Linked DNA regions of Homo sapiens: region 2 is linked to region 1. Evidence: promoter capture Hi-C in 16 types of primary human blood cells and fetal thymus (Javierre and others, 2016). All regions are on one chromosome and are shown on one strand. The core of a region is centred on a gene start or on the middle of the fragment in contact, and the rest is flanking DNA. Distances in the headings are between cores, read along the strand shown.

Region 1 (7,561 bases), core at 2,820-5,319:
TTAACAGCCATGCTTCCAGAAAACAACCCTAAAGGTCCATGACATGTGGTAATTTGTGTGGCTAGAGAGGAAGTCTGGTCAAATGCCCAGTACTTAACATCTTGAGAAAGCTTTTCTGTTCATGACTGTCTCATTAGGATTCTGAGGGGATCAAGTGTTTAGTTAAACTAGACCCATTTTATGGAGAAAATGTTTGACTGCTCAGGGTGACTGGTGATTTGTGAAGGGCATGTGGACACTGTGTTTAGAGAACACCAAGGGTCTACTGTATCTGTGCCTGTGAGGCACAGGGTGTCCCCTCGGGCTAGGTGCCTCTGCCCTGTGGTCACACAGGGGCCTCCTGAGCAAAGGTGGTAGGCTCACATGGCCGGACAGGCCATCGGGATAGGGAAGAGAGACGCACCGCATGAAGATCACTATGTTGTGCACCAGGATCTCAGGTACCGTGCAGAAGAAGCTACCAAACAGCAAATATGGAAATAGTCAGTTTTTTTTTTTTTAAAGCCTCAGTAGAAGAGTGCAGAGTTACACTGTCCTGTTTGGGGTGCCCCCCTCCCCCTTCCGACCTAAGTGCTGCCAAGGCTTGTCAGCTCTCAGTCCCTGCCACTGTCATTTTCATCCTCCCACAGCGTCATACCACTTTCTGTTTTTTCAAACCCATCACATAAGTGCTGGAGCTTGGTAACGTTTTTAGTGGCTTAATGTTCTCTTTTAGAAATTCCAGCACTTCTGTCACATATCAAATAATACATTCTTCAAATACACACATAATAATAATACATTCTTCAAATAAATCTCAAGACATCCAAAGCCAGGGAACCTATAAGTCAAAAGCTGAGATCTAAGGCAGGACCAGGCCCCAATCAATGGAGTATGACTTTGAATCCCTTTCCTCCAGTAGAGAGCACACACAGAGAGAACAGTGTCCTTACTACACATAGGAAAACGGTCCTCCCATCTCGGCCTTCCCGGTAAAATTCACCTGAAAATAAGATACCAGAGTTGGTCTGTGGCCAAGCAGGCTTGACACAGAACAGTATTATTATTAGCAATCCAAAGACCTTGGGTCATTCTTCCATCACATGCAAAATACTTCCCTGAGATTGTCCCTAATATAGTCTATGAGCCTCTAATTGATACTGCCAACCTCTTCCCTTTTGAGAGGCCAATGGACCTCAGGCTGTAACACTGCTGCTTCTTATTTTGTAGCAAATCTTTGTCTCTTACAAATTATTCTGCTCCCCAAATGCTTAAATGATAGCTGTTTTTTCTCACAATTATTTATAATTACAGGGCCCAACAGGTCTTCCTCATCACCAGTTCCTACAAGTAGAAATGAGGAGACAAAAAGGAAAGTGACACAGCTATGGCATTCCTACAGCCCCCTACTCTTCTCTTAGGCCTGTGGGGCAAGATTCCTAAAAGAACAGCATACCAGTTGCTCACTCCGAGGTGGAATAAGGGAGACGTTAGTAGTCACATATGTACTGACCACTGTGTTCATGTACTGAATCTGGCTGGACAGGCTGGTCACTGCCACCGTGTAGAAGTTGGAGTTCCTGATTTTCAGGGTGGCCTACATCAGGGCAAGTCAGGAAACAAGTGTAAGTGTCCTGGGTCCCAGCCTGGCAGGTGCACAACCCAGGGAATGAAACCCTAAGGCTTACCATGATGGTGAGAATTACAAGGGAGTCTTGCTTATTAAATGTGACTTTCACCACTTTGATGCCGTCATCATCCACAAGGACTGAATGCGGAAACAGGAAGAAAACCACCAAACCAGATGCCAGGAGACAAAGCAGGATGGACAGGAGGACATATTGCTTACTGCAAATGACACAGCACATGACCGACCCAGGCAGTCAGATATCAAGGTTCAATGTGTCAAGATTAAACACAAAACCAGGAAAGAGAAGGGAGCTGAAAGGGAAGTTCCAAGAGCCAGGAACCATAAACCAGTTAAGAAGCAGTGAAGCAGGAGAAACCTTTTAAAACTCCTTTAAACACTGTTTGCACTCTGGGAAGAAAAGCTGAAGAAAGGAGCTATGTGGACAGAGACAGTCCCACACCTCCCAGAACACTCCACTTTCCCAGTTTCTTCTGATTCCATTCCTTGACCTTCAAAGCATTTCCAGCTTCAAGTTTCTTTCCCCAGATTGTGATGGGGGCAGAGATATCTTGCTTGGGCAAACAGTTATAAGGAAAATGGGGAACTTATAAGAACATGTGTAGTTTTCAAAGAATTAACTGGCATTCATACATACAGAAAGAGATTAGGGACAGAAGTAGGTATTAACAGGTGAGAAGCAGGTAACTCACGTTCGCTGAGGGCGCAATCTCTGATCACTGTGTGGGATCAAAGCCACCAACTCATTTACTTGCTCTAGAAAAGAGCCAAACAATTATTTTGTAAATCCCATGTGTTGGCAGTACTTCCTTCACGTCTCACTTGAGCCTGCCACAACAAATATTCTTCTGGAATGAGACATTTTAAAAAATACTAGTGAAATTCACATGTTGGGTCTAATGAACAAGAAACAAGAGAGTGCCACAAATTATAAAACATCTATCAGTGCTGCCAGGGTAGTGATGTGGAAGTTGAAAAACCTGGGATCCTGTTCTGGCTTTACTGCATGGGCTTGGCAGAGTCGTCGAATCTCTCAAGGCCATGGTTTCCTTGCCTTTCATATGGAAGCTTTGGAGTAAATGATTTTGAAGGTCCTAACCAGCTCTAAATTTCTGTGACTCTCCAGCTAAACTGTTAAAGACTTTCTGAGGGCCAATTTGTTAATAGTAATAGATGATCCTGTACCAAGGCTAAGTATTTGTCTCTCTCTCTTGACCTGATATATTTTTCTGACCTTAGGCTGTTAAGGATTAGCTACCCATTTCCTTGAAAAGCAGCTTCCAAGATGGTTCCCCCGCAAAGCTGTCCCAATCCTTGTGACAGCGATAAAGAAATGTGCCTGTCAACAAATCCCACAACACAGAGCGAACTGAATGTTCCAAACCTCAGGAAAAGAACAAGAGTGGCGGTAAAGAAAAGAAAGGGTTGGAAAAATAAGGAGAGGAAGAGAAGTTGCAGAACTGCCCAAGTGTATTAAGTCAGTTGAGCTGGCTCCTGTCCAGGGCACTGTCTCTATTATGGTATTACTGCCTAGAAGAAAAGTTGTCTGGGCAGACAGGAGAACTCCGAGGGTACCTTGGGATTCTCATCAGGGAATCATCCCTCCATGATCACCTGTTGGAATGTAGCCTGTCCCCTGGCACGTGAGACAGGTGATGCTATCTCTCCCGGTGAATTCCACATATGGGAACTGAGCAATGGCTTCTTCCTGCTCTCGTTCAGCCAGCAAACCGTCCCTGTCATCTTCTTGCTTTCGCCTGCAGGAGGAGGGGCGAGCAGCAGCGGAATGCTGAGACCCCATGGCCGTGATATGCCACTGGTGTCATGTCCTAAGATGAAAAGAGGGAGTGCACGTTAGCGGCCCCAGTGAATCACGACAGAAATCGCTTGTTTCTATAAGAAAATTAAAAACGCAAAAATGACAAGTTGCCGCCCTGAGTGTGGTCCCAACACCTGTACGATTTCTATCGGGACCCTCATTTTGTAGTAGTGCTACCCACTCTCCTCTTACCCGCCACACACAGCCGGCGGGGGTGGGGAGGGGGAACGGGGCCTGCCTTTCACGCACCTGCCTCGATCCTCACCGCCCTGGGACTTGGGGCACCCCCGCTCCCACCTGGTCCAGCCTCGCCCCTTCCTCTTCACTATTTGTAAGCTCTATGCCCCTCCTCGAGCAACAAACAGGCACCAAATTGATAACCGGCCTTAACGATTCCCATTCCTCTCCACCCCCCAGCCCCAGGAGGCGGGCTCAGGTCACGCCCCTTGGCAAAAAGCGATGCTCTGAGCCCACCAAAGTGGCCCAGGCAGGAGCGAACGCCAGCGTCGCAGACCTGCAGGGCACGAACTCCCGGCAGCTCCTCTCCGGCCGCTCCCCCGACCACCTGCCAGCTTGAGGACTTACCAGCCTCTTCGGTCGGCGGAGCGGCACGCACTCAGCGCGCAGGCGCCAAATACCAAGCCCGCCAGGAGAACGCGGGCGCGCGCTCGCGCGTGCGCTCTTCGCGGCTCCGGAGGCCTTCCCAATATCGCAGCTGTCTGGCTCCCTCGGTTCCGGTAGAGGGCGGCAGAGAGCGCCGGGGAGCCGCGACCCTTGCTGTTGGGCCGCGGTAGTCCGCGGAGTCGGGATGATGCTCTGCTGTTCGCTAGATAGGCTGGGAAAGGCTCCAGTCAAGTTTCCAGAGCAAAACACTTCTCTGCTGCGAGAGGAGGAAGGTGCTGCCGGCTACCGAAGCCATTCTGAAATATTCTTTATAGTACAGGAGCTGTGTAGTCGCTGAGGGTACACACATGCGGAGCATTCGGATAAACTGCCTTTGCAAAAATTGTAAGTGAGAAAATTATGACAGTGAAAGAGATCTGACTTACCCAGTTCCGTCTTGCTTCTAACCTCCGAACTGCCCTTGTTCATTCCTGGGTATAGGCCAAACTAACTTTGGGAGGAATTTAGTTTATAGTTGAACTTCGAAGCAAAGATAACAGCCCTTCCCCAAAACAAACCCCCTTCTTGCCTGGGGACCAGACTGCCTTTGTAAGACTAACAAATTAGCCACAAGATTAGAAATTATGGTTTAGGAGTCATCCAGACAGAGGTCACAAGATTCCAAACCTTCCCTATTGCTCCAAGGGATAACATCACTATTGTAAAATCTAAGATCGGTGCTGGGGATATTTTTCAGACCCTGCATTCTGAGGCACCAGCTGGCAGTACCTAGACCAGTTATCTGGCTCAGCCAGTTCTGCAATCCCACCCAGGAACAGAAAACAGCAAGAAGAACCCACTTAGACCCCCCTATGATTTCATCTCCAACCTGACCAATCAGCACTCCCCACTGCCTGATACCTACCAGCCGAATTATCCTTAAAAAACCCCAGTCTCTGAATTATCGGGGAGACTTATTTGAGTGATAAAACTCTGGTATCTCATTCAGCCGGCTCTGCATGAATTAAAATCTCCATTGCAATTCCCCTGTCTTGATGAATCAGCTCTGGGCAACGGGCAAGGAGAACCCGTCCGGCAATTATATCAGAACCTGTCTTCAGTCCAGGAGGGGAACCCAGAGGCTTCATCAGACCCCTCCAATACTGTAGATAAAAGTGCTGCTGGAAGTCTCACAAGTCAGAGGGGCCCAGCCTGGGGGAAACCTTCCATGGGGAGTCCTGCTGGCTTCTCGCAGGAACGGACCCCACAGCTGAGCTTTGCAAGCCAATTAGGTGCCAAGAGGCACCAAGGAGTAGATTCATTCGGTAGTAGGGCCCCCCCTTCCCCAGACCTCCACAAAAAAGGCACGTACGTAAGAGGTTAGAAAGCACTTTTCGTTCGTTTGTTTGTTTGTTCGTTTGTTTTGAGATGGAGTCTTGCTCTGTCGACCAGGCTGGAGTACAGTGGCACAGTCTCAGCTCACTGCAACCTCCGCCTCCCGGGTTCAAGCGATTCTCCTGCCTCAGCCTCACAAGTAGCTGGGATTACAGGCGCACACCTCCACACCTGGCTAATTTTTGTATTTTTAGTGGAGACCGGGTCTCACCATGTTGACCAGGCTGGCCTCAAACCCCTGACCTCAGGTGATCTGCCCACCTTGGCCTCTCAAAGTGCTGGGATTACAGGCGTGAGCCACTGTGCCCGGCCTAGAGGGTACTTTTTAATGGGTGGGTTTCTTTGTTCATACTGCCAGGTTGAGCTTAGCCTGCAGCAGCAGGAGTTGAGTACAGACATTAACCAGGTGAAATTATTAAAGATGATGCTAGGGGAGAGGAGATATTCTGAAATGGGATGAATAAGGGGCCCACTTGGCAATAGAGAGTGAGGCTGAGGCTGGTGACCCCTCAGGTTTCTGCCACCTCTGTATTTTCCTCTTTCTCCTGTGGGGAATGCCAATGTACCTGCTGTTGTCTAGCCATCTGCCTGACCACTGGCCACAATCAGCCCACTGAGTCTTTAGTAAGAGGCAACAAGGACCCTCTACTTCCCCTCTCACATCTCTGATCCACCTCTTCTCCTTCTTGAAATGTTTTTTTTTTTTTCATCTGTTGGGTCACAGAAAACGATTCCCCAAAATATGGTGTTTGAGCATACGGAGTGCTTTTGAGAATTAAAAGAAAACAAGCCTCAGAATCAAGGTACCTCTAACCTTGTCTTGTTCCTCCGCTCAACCCCAAGCATAGGGGAAGACTCTCTCTGGAATTTCCTTGTCTCACCAAGAAAGCTTTTTTTTTTTTTTTTTGAGACAGGGTTTTGCTCTGTCGTCCAGGATCAAGTACAGTGGTGCCATCACAGCTCACTGAAGCCTCAAATTCTGGGGCTCAAGCAGTCCTCTGTGAAACAAAAATAAAGCTAAGTCTTCTCTACCCCCAGCCATCTGCATGGACCCCTCCTCTCAGCCAAGGGCATTCCAAAGTTAACCTGAAAAACTAGTTCAGGCCATGATGGGAAGGGGGAGTCAGACATGCCTCACTACCGTTGTGAAAGAAAAATAAATTTCAGGACCCCCAAATCATGAAGTCAAGGGAAAAGTCAAGCTGGAGACTATGTCAGGCAATTCTGCCTCCCATTTTATTTCTAAATAAGGTAGCTACAAAGATCAAAATTACATATCCCCCTCACAATTTGCCCACAAGGAATTTCCTTGTGGACAAAGGACAGACATGACTCAAAGTCATCTTTCTGAGGCTCACCTGAGACAAATGTGTATTCGATTGCCTCCTCTGCCCTACGGTGTATGTAAAAATGCAGGTGTACTGAGCCAGACTAAATTGTGTATTCAATGGAAGGCGGATGTAGGACTCAAAAGAATGCAACCTTTTTTCTCTTATCTATTTCTGACCTGAAAGACCCCCACCTCGGCACCCTTCGAGTTGTCCCGCCTTACTGGACCCAACCAATGCACATCTTACACATAATTATTGATGTCTCATGTTTCCCTAAAATGTTTAAAAGCAAGCTGTACCTGACTACCTTGGGCACATGTCGTTAGGACCTCCTGAGGCTGTGTCACAGGAATGTCCTTAACCTTGTCAAAATAAACTCCTAAATTAATTGAGACTTATCTCTGATACTTTTTTGGATGATACCTCCCACGTCAACCTCCCAAGTAGTTGGGACCATAGGTGTGCACCACCACGCCGGGCTAATTTTTAAATTTTTACTGGCGATGGGGTCTCCCCCTGTTGCCCAGGCTAGTCTCAAACTCCTGGGCTCAAGCAGTCCTCCTGCCTCAGCTTCCCAATGTGCTAGGATTACAGGCATGAGCCACTGTGCCTGGCCAAGAAAACTTCTTACCAAGAGTTTGTATCCCATCCCTGAAATATCATGATCTATGGCAGAGAAGAAGACTGAAGAATGCAATCATGCTTGGATGGAATTTTTCACAAGATAATGCCTGCCTTTCCTGCTCATTCAAATTGCAAAGAGAATCATTTACAAGTTAATGTGTC
Region 2 (7,561 bases), core at 2,160-4,659, 660 kb before region 1:
CACTTACTGTATCCCACCTTTTGGTTCATGTTTCAGTCAACCAACTAAACAAACTGTTAGAATCCTTCCTAGTTCCCCAAGCTGCAACATTAAATGCAGAATTTCTGCTTTAGTGAGCCTTGAAGGGAGAGTGAAGGGAAGGAAACCCAGATATTGCAGCTCCCCGAAGCCCACTAGGATCAGCCAGGTGGTCTGGTTCCCACTGTCACAAATGTATATCAATACATTCGGCTTTATTCAACTTTACGTTCCTTCCATCATCATCCCACAATTTCAAGATCTATTTCCATGCATGTTCACTGGATTTCTGTCTGTATAAATTAGAAAACCCAAGTAATTCTTTTGGATTGTAGTGCATGTCCTCATGGGTCACACTTTGTGCTCACCTTTAGAGGCCTGCAGGGACTTGGGTCTAGCTATAGTTTTAGAACCAAAGAGGAGTGATGGGTATGGGTTCTGAGGAGAATCAGCATTGTCTTGCATGGGAACTGCCCCAGGGGAGGCAATTACAGTTTCTTCAGGCAATGTGGGATTAATTCCCTCAGACAGGGACAGAGGCTGCTGTCGCTGGGGTTGGGGAAGCTGCTACCACTGGGGATAGGGAGGCCAATTCCAATTGGAAAATACAGTTACCTCATTTTGGTAGACATCCATTTTCAATCCCACAGTCTCCATCTTTTTATTGCAGTGGTCTCTAGTCCATCAGACTTTGAGGAAGGGGCTAAGCTGAAATCAATCCAGGAAGAAGTCAAAAGCTGTCCTGTCCTCCTTAGTGAGTGTGTCCTGGGATGAGCTGTCCCCTGAGCCTATGCAGAGCCCCCTTCACCTCTTGGTTCTTGAGGCTGTGGATGATGGAGTTGACCATGGGAGTGAACACTGTGTAGAGGACAGAGAAGACCTTTAGAAGCAAGGGGACATGTGTTCTATTGGGGCCACATAGACCACAATGAGGGTGCCATAAAATACCCCAACTACGGTGAGGTGGGAGGAACAGGTGAAGAAGGCTTTCTGCCTCTCATGGCCTGAGGGTATTTGCAGTACAGCCCTCAATGAAGGCAGAGGATGCCACAATCAGTAGGAAGGCGGCCAGTGTCAGGAAGCCTGAGATGCTGACTTCAGCTCCCTACATGACTCCCACATCCCCGCAGAACTGCCTGACTACTGGAGCAAACTCACAGAAATAGTGGTCAATCTCCCTGCTGCCAGGACAGAGGTGCTGCCAGGGCCATAGTGAAGGCAGAGGAGAAGAAGCCACTGAACCAAGCACCAGCGGCCAGGCAGTGACAAAACCAGGTGCTCATCAGGGCAGGATAGTGAAGGGGGCAGCAGATGGCCAAGTAACAGTCATAGGACACGGCAGATAGCAGGAGGCACTCAGCTGCAGCCAGCGAGGAAAACACGTAGAACTGAGCCAGACAGCTGACTAGAGAGATGACTTCCTTCCCCTCCAAGAAACTCTGCAACAGCCATAGTATGACGTTGGAGGTATAGCCAATCTCCAGCAGGGAGAAGTGGCAGAGGAAGAAGTACATTGGTGGGTGCAGTGTCCGACTAGAGGCCACAGCCAGCATGATGAGGGCATTGCCCCCAACTGTCACCACATAGATGGCCAGGAAGAGAGTGAAGGGAAGGAAGCCCAGGTATTGCAGCTCCCCGAAGCCCACTAGGATCAGCCAGGTGGTCTGGTTCCCACTGTCACCACTGGACTGCTTCTTCTTCCAGGTCTGGGCCCAAGAGAAGAGAGGAAGGTAGTTAATATTAACAAAGATACTATTATGGCCACACTCCATGCTTGGCTTATCCATTTACTCATCACAGCACGCATCAGAGACAGGCCTTATTGTCTCCCAGATGTGGAAGAGAAACTAAGACCCGTTTGTTCAAGTCAATTATTCCAGGTCATTATGATGGAGTCATGATGTGAACCCAGGTTTGCCTGACTCTAAGGCTCCCGAATGGTCTACTGTTCTACAGTGCTTTCCCAACCTGCTCCACCCACATTTTTTTTTTTTTTTTGAGATAGGGTCTCACCCAGGCAGGAGTGTAGTGGTGCGATCACAGCTCACTACAGCCTCGACTTCCTGGGCTCAAGCCATCCTCCCACCTCAGCCTCCCAAGTAGCTGGGACTACAAGCACATGCCACCATGCCTGGCTACTTAAAAAAAAATTTAACAGAAATGAAGTCTCCCTATATCGTCCAGGCTGGTCTCAAATTTCTGCGCTCAAGCGATCCTCCCAAAGTTCTGGGATTATAGGCGTGAGCCACTGCATCTGGCCCCAAACGTTTTTTAAGTGATAGAAATGTCAAAATTAGAGAGCAGCATAATGTTCTTCCAATCCGCAGGGAGCTATTTACCTGGAGGTCCCGGCTGGGCACCAACAGGAGGACCACAGCTGGTGAACTGTGGAAGGGTAGGAGGCGTGCGCATCGCCTCTAGGAGAGTTGGTCCTACTCTGAAGTCATGCACGTTCCTGAGGCTGCCACTCATCTCAGACTATTTTTTCTTTCCAAGAAAATGAGACTTGGAAATCCAGATGAGCAATCTATATCATCTATTCAGCAAGATATGCAACACAGAAAGATCTGAATTAACCCAGATCCCACCCCCCTGGGAAACCACTCTTTCTCTTTGGACAGGTGGCCTGGTGACCCTTGGTAAAGCCATTTCCACACTTTGCCCAGTCTCCGATCAGTTTGTTGGAAACTGGAAACACTCTATTTATCTTGGTTCTCCTGCCTTGTATTTTCCATACAGGTCAAATGCTCAGTTTATCTTAACTAACTGTGGGTTCTTTAGAAACTTCTCTTCTGGCGTAGGTTTCCTTCTCTCAGTTATTGCAGCACTACCTTTCCACCAAACACATAGGAAGACTTTGTGGAATGAATAAATAAATTAATATATGAATTCATTACAATAATTTTCCAAAAGCAAATTGCCATGAAAAAATTGCACCATCTGACAGTTAACGCTAGAGTCAAAGAGACATTTAAATGACTACTAAAATAGAGGAGGAATCATTGGGTCATCCCCTACAGTTGAGGGAATATTGGAAGCTTGGGATGGAATCATAAATAAGAATGGATATGGAAGTCAAAAATATGTGTGTGCGTAGGAGGAAGAAACCAGAAAGCCCAATGTGATAGTTTTCTCACTTTTGAAGTTAAGAAAGGCGACATCTCACATTAGCCGATGGCAGTGAGAACACAGGGTTTTTCTGTTCCTGGCCTGATCCTACGTTTTCCTTTGGCTTTGGGCTTACATCATGCAGACCCACATTCAGTCATATGGGGATACAGACATGGAACAAACTGAATGCTTTCATATGTATTTGAACATATTCTGTCTTCTATATACTAATGATTTCTTAAAGAGCCAAGGAGTGACTTGAATTGAGAGTGAAATAGGACTCTGGGTTTAGCAGAAAGAGGGAGCAAAGGAAGAAACTAGTTAAACTAACCAAATCAACCAACCAGTCAACTGACCCGAAACTTCTGAAGTCTACACTCTGAGCCAATGCTTATGATTATAAAGTTAGAAGCACTGCCCTTGCCAACCAATGAATTTGACCTTGGTTCCTGGTAAAATTCCTAAATAGATGCTATGTAGAATAGTTGGAAGTCCCATAAGGGATCACCAGGATCTTTGTAATGCTGAACCTAATGTAAAACCTCATAATAATATCTTTTATTGACAGTACTAATAATTTAACAATCAGGAGAAAGGAGCAGAGAAAGGGCATGTTAATCTCAGTAAAGCTTCATAAAAAGATGATGACTGTGTGCTTAGAGATAACGCTTTTTTAGCCTGGTGCAGTGGCTCACGCCTGTAATCCCACCACTTTGGGAGGCCGAGGCAGGCGGATCACGAGGTCAGGAGTTCAAGACCAGTCTGACCAACATAGTGAAACCCTGTCTCTACTAAAAATACACAAAAAATTAACCAGGTGTGGTGGTGTGCGCCTGTAATCCCAGCTACTCAGGAGGCTGAGGCAGGAGAATGGCGTGAACCTGGGAGGCGGAGGTTGCAGTGAGCCAAGATCGTGCCAATGCACTCCAGCCTGGGCGACAGAACGAGACTCTGTCTCAAAAAAGAAAAAAAGAAAAAAGATAACGCTTTTAGTTTGGCTACCATACACCAAAATTATTCATTAATGACTAAAAATCTGGAGAAATCTGTCTAGTGAAAAGGAGAATGTGTTGTAGATCTTATCTTCGTCACCTATTTTAGCAATGACTTCAATAGGCATAGTAAGCATGCATGGCTCATCAAACTTCAGATGATATGAAACAAAGAGGGAAAATCAATATTGTAAGCAACAATTATAATTCAAAATAATCTTGCCTTTTGGAATGCCAAACTAAAAACAAGACGGAATTTAACAGAGGCACATATAAAATCTGCATGTAGATTTTAACAACCGGTTACACAAGCATAGGAAGGGTAAGACCCAACTTAGTAGCCAATTATGTGAAAATAATTTGGGCTTTTTGTTGACTATCATGAATTTTTTCTTTTTTTTTTTTTTTGAGATGGATTCTGGCTCTGTCGCCCAGGCTAGAGTGCAGGGTTATGATTTCAGCTCACTGCAACCTCCACCTCCCAGGCTCAACTGATTCTCCTGCCTCAGCCTCCCAAGCAGCTGGAACTGCAGGTGCCCAACACCGAGCCCGGCTACTTTTTTGTATTTTCAGTAGAGACGGGGTTTCACCGTGTTAGCCAGGATGGTCTCCATCTCCTGACCTCGTGATCTGCCCGCCTCGGCCTTCCAGAGTGCTGGGATTACAGGCGTGAGCCACCGCACCCGGCCTGAGTATCATGAATTAGGGCTTGAAAACTGTGAAATACAAGGAATAGATGAAGAATGTAGAGAATCTGGAAAAGACAAAATGAATAGAAGAATATGATAACTGTTTTCAAATATTTGAGAGACTCTTATAAAGAAGAGGAATTACATTTAATTCACAGAACAAGGACCAAGGGTGTGGTGGTGCTGGAAAACCCATGATTACTCATCTGTGCTGGCTTCCTAGAGGTGATTCTTAAGGGGTTAACCATTGTTATTTACTGCATTTTTTGGGGGGTTTGAAAATAAGATGAGGCTCGGGGGACAGGGTCAGTGTGGTGAAGTGGAATTTCTTCCTAGAGCCTCCAGAAGTTTGTTGGCAAATATGGGCCTCATCCACAGGAACCTCCCAGAGCAAACAAACAAACAAAAATGATAAACTCTCTTCTGCATGTTTAGGTTGGGTCAGTGGTGGTCCTCTCTGTAGGCAGAGAGCAGGGTTGACCCATATGAACGCCAGATACTCAAGCTCAGTGAAGATGGGGGCGGACCTGCTTTGGGCTTGGAGTCAACTTCTCTCCTGGACGTCTTTACCCCTAGACTAAATTCTTCTGCCACCTGACAGCTCTGTGGACTTTCTGCTTCTCTCCTGTGGAGTCTCCACATGTTATTGACTCCCTACACCCTAGGGTGCTCACAGAAGACAGTTGTCCCTATTCCGTATGTGCTGCTATGGATGCAACTGCCTTTTCTAGAGGAGGAGAGCGCCCCTCCCTTGTGCAGGTTGGAGAAGAGCCTCCTTGGAGAGGAGATGTAGTTTGGAGCCAACTGGAGCAGCTGCATCTATCTTTTGGTTCCAGGGAAATGTTCAGGTCTACAAGGGACCACATCCATGTGTTTCATTCAAACCTAATTACCTCCCCCTTATGAGTGGGGAAAGACTGGCAAGACATAAGAATAACCATAATAGCCAAATGCTGTGGCTCATGCCTATAACCCCAGCACTTTGGGAGGCTGAAGAGGGAGGATCACTTGAGCCAAAAAGTTCAAGACCAGCCTGGGAAACATAGTAAGACCCCATCTCTACAAAAAAAAAAAAAAAAAAAAAAAATCAGCCAGTCATGGTGGCATATGCCTGTAGTCCCAGCTACTCTGGAGCCTGTGGTGGGAGCTTCGCTTGAGCCCAGGAGGTTGAGGATGCAGTGAGCCATAATTGCACCACTGCACTCCAGCCTGGGTGACCAAAAAGAAAATAGCCACAATGAAAGCCAGCGTTTATGGAATACTTTATAATTCATAAAGCAAATATTAACTGATTAGCTAATTTAATAAATATTCAATTCTCAGAATGAGCCCCAAGGTGAAATGTATGTTATAACTTGTTCTTGCAGCATTGGGATGAGCTATCAAGAGTGTTGAGAGGTGAAGCCAGCTGGATTTCTGGGTCGAGTCGGGACTTGGAGAACTTTTCTAACAAGAGGATTGTAAAATGCACCAATCAGCGCTCTGTAGCTAGGATTGTAAAACGCACCAATCAGCACTCTGTGGCTAGCTAGAGGTTTGTAAAATGTGCCAGTCAGCACTCTGTAAAAACGCACCAATCAGCGCTCTGTGTCTAGCTAAAGGATTGTAAATGCACCAATCAGCACTCTGTGTCTAGCTAAAGGATTGTAAATGCACCAATCAGCACTCTGTGAAATGGACCAATCAGCACTCTGTAAAATGGACCAGTCAGCAGGACATGGGAGAGGCCAAATAAGGGAATAAAAGCTGGCCACCCCAGCCAGCACCGGCAACCCACTCAGGTCCCTTTCCACGCTGTGGAAGCTTTGTTCTTTCACTCTTCACAATAAATCTTGCTGCTGCTCACTCTTTGTGTCTGCACCACCTTTAAGAGCTGTAACACTCGCTGCAAAGGTCCGCGGGTTCATTCTTGAAGTCAGCGAGACCACAGACCCACCAGAAGGAAGAAACTCCAGACACATCTGAAGGAACAAACTCTGGACACACCATCTTTAAGAGCTGTAACACTCACTGTGAAGGTCTGCGGCTTCATTCTTGAAGTCAGCAAGACCAAAAGCCTGCTGGAAGGAACCAACTCTGGACACAGTGTGACCTCTAAGGGCTAAATCAACAGTCTTTCTACCCTGGCCTGGGTTAGGACCCTGGGGTCCCGCTTTGATCTCTTAGCAGGGAGGAGGCAAGAAGAAACTGATATATAACTCTGTAGGTATTCTGTCCTGTTTAGTTGGATAGTTTAACATCACAGATTAACATAAAACCAGGTCAGATCCCTTCAAGATAATGGAGACAGACTAAAATGCAGCTGAATGACAAATGTAAATAGGAAATCCCACTGCAGTACTATAGCACCGAGTTTCTTCCATAGCAAGCAGAGAGCAGATCTGGGCCAGGAGGAGGACAGCACAGGCTCTGGGCTGGGGCTGAGATTTTCTAGGAACAGACTGGCATGGCTCTTCCTGGAAAAAACTGGACAAGTGTGTGACATTGGCAGAAGAGAGGCAGAGTAGAGAGTCTTAGGTGTAGAAAAGGTGACTCAGTCTCAAACAAAGTCTCCATAAAGCTTATAATACCTCAATATGAGCAGTAAAACTTCCTGGTCAGTCCTTCAGGATAAACTAGTTTCAAAATGTACTTGTAGATAACTACATGAACTAGTATTCTCAATAAGGCTGTTAGCTAAATCCAGTAAGATGTTGGACGATATGTAATAAAAATAAAGTTTGGCTTTGGAATAACTGATCATCCTAAGCC

Evidence for each region. The method cuts DNA at HindIII sites, captures the fragments that hold promoters and counts their contacts. A CHiCAGO score of 5 or more calls a contact.
Region 2: a fragment that was not itself captured here is called in contact with the fragment with the promoter of TMEM106C in region 1 in 2 of 17 cell types (M0 macrophages and erythroblasts); the score reaches 6.2 in M0 macrophages.

What each region holds. Positions count from the first base shown.
Region 1 is chr12:47,960,104-47,967,664 of GRCh38, reverse strand. TMEM106C (transmembrane protein 106C) reads right to left here and starts at 4,069. Exons shown (of 8, transcript NM_001143842.2): 1 at 3,961-4,069; 2 at 3,242-3,456; 3 at 2,320-2,383; 4 at 1,668-1,827; 5 at 1,436-1,576; 6 at 933-982; 7 at 404-457. The coding sequence starts at 3,428. RefSeq lists an enhancer at 7,267-7,561. The HindIII fragment of the contact is 3,638 bases long and covers 2,698-6,335 here.
Region 2 is chr12:48,622,024-48,629,584 of GRCh38, reverse strand. It overlaps the pseudogene OR11M1P. Among named protein-coding and RNA genes, the nearest start is that of SNORA2C, 29 kb to the left of the region's middle. The HindIII fragment of the contact is 702 bases long and covers 3,059-3,760 here.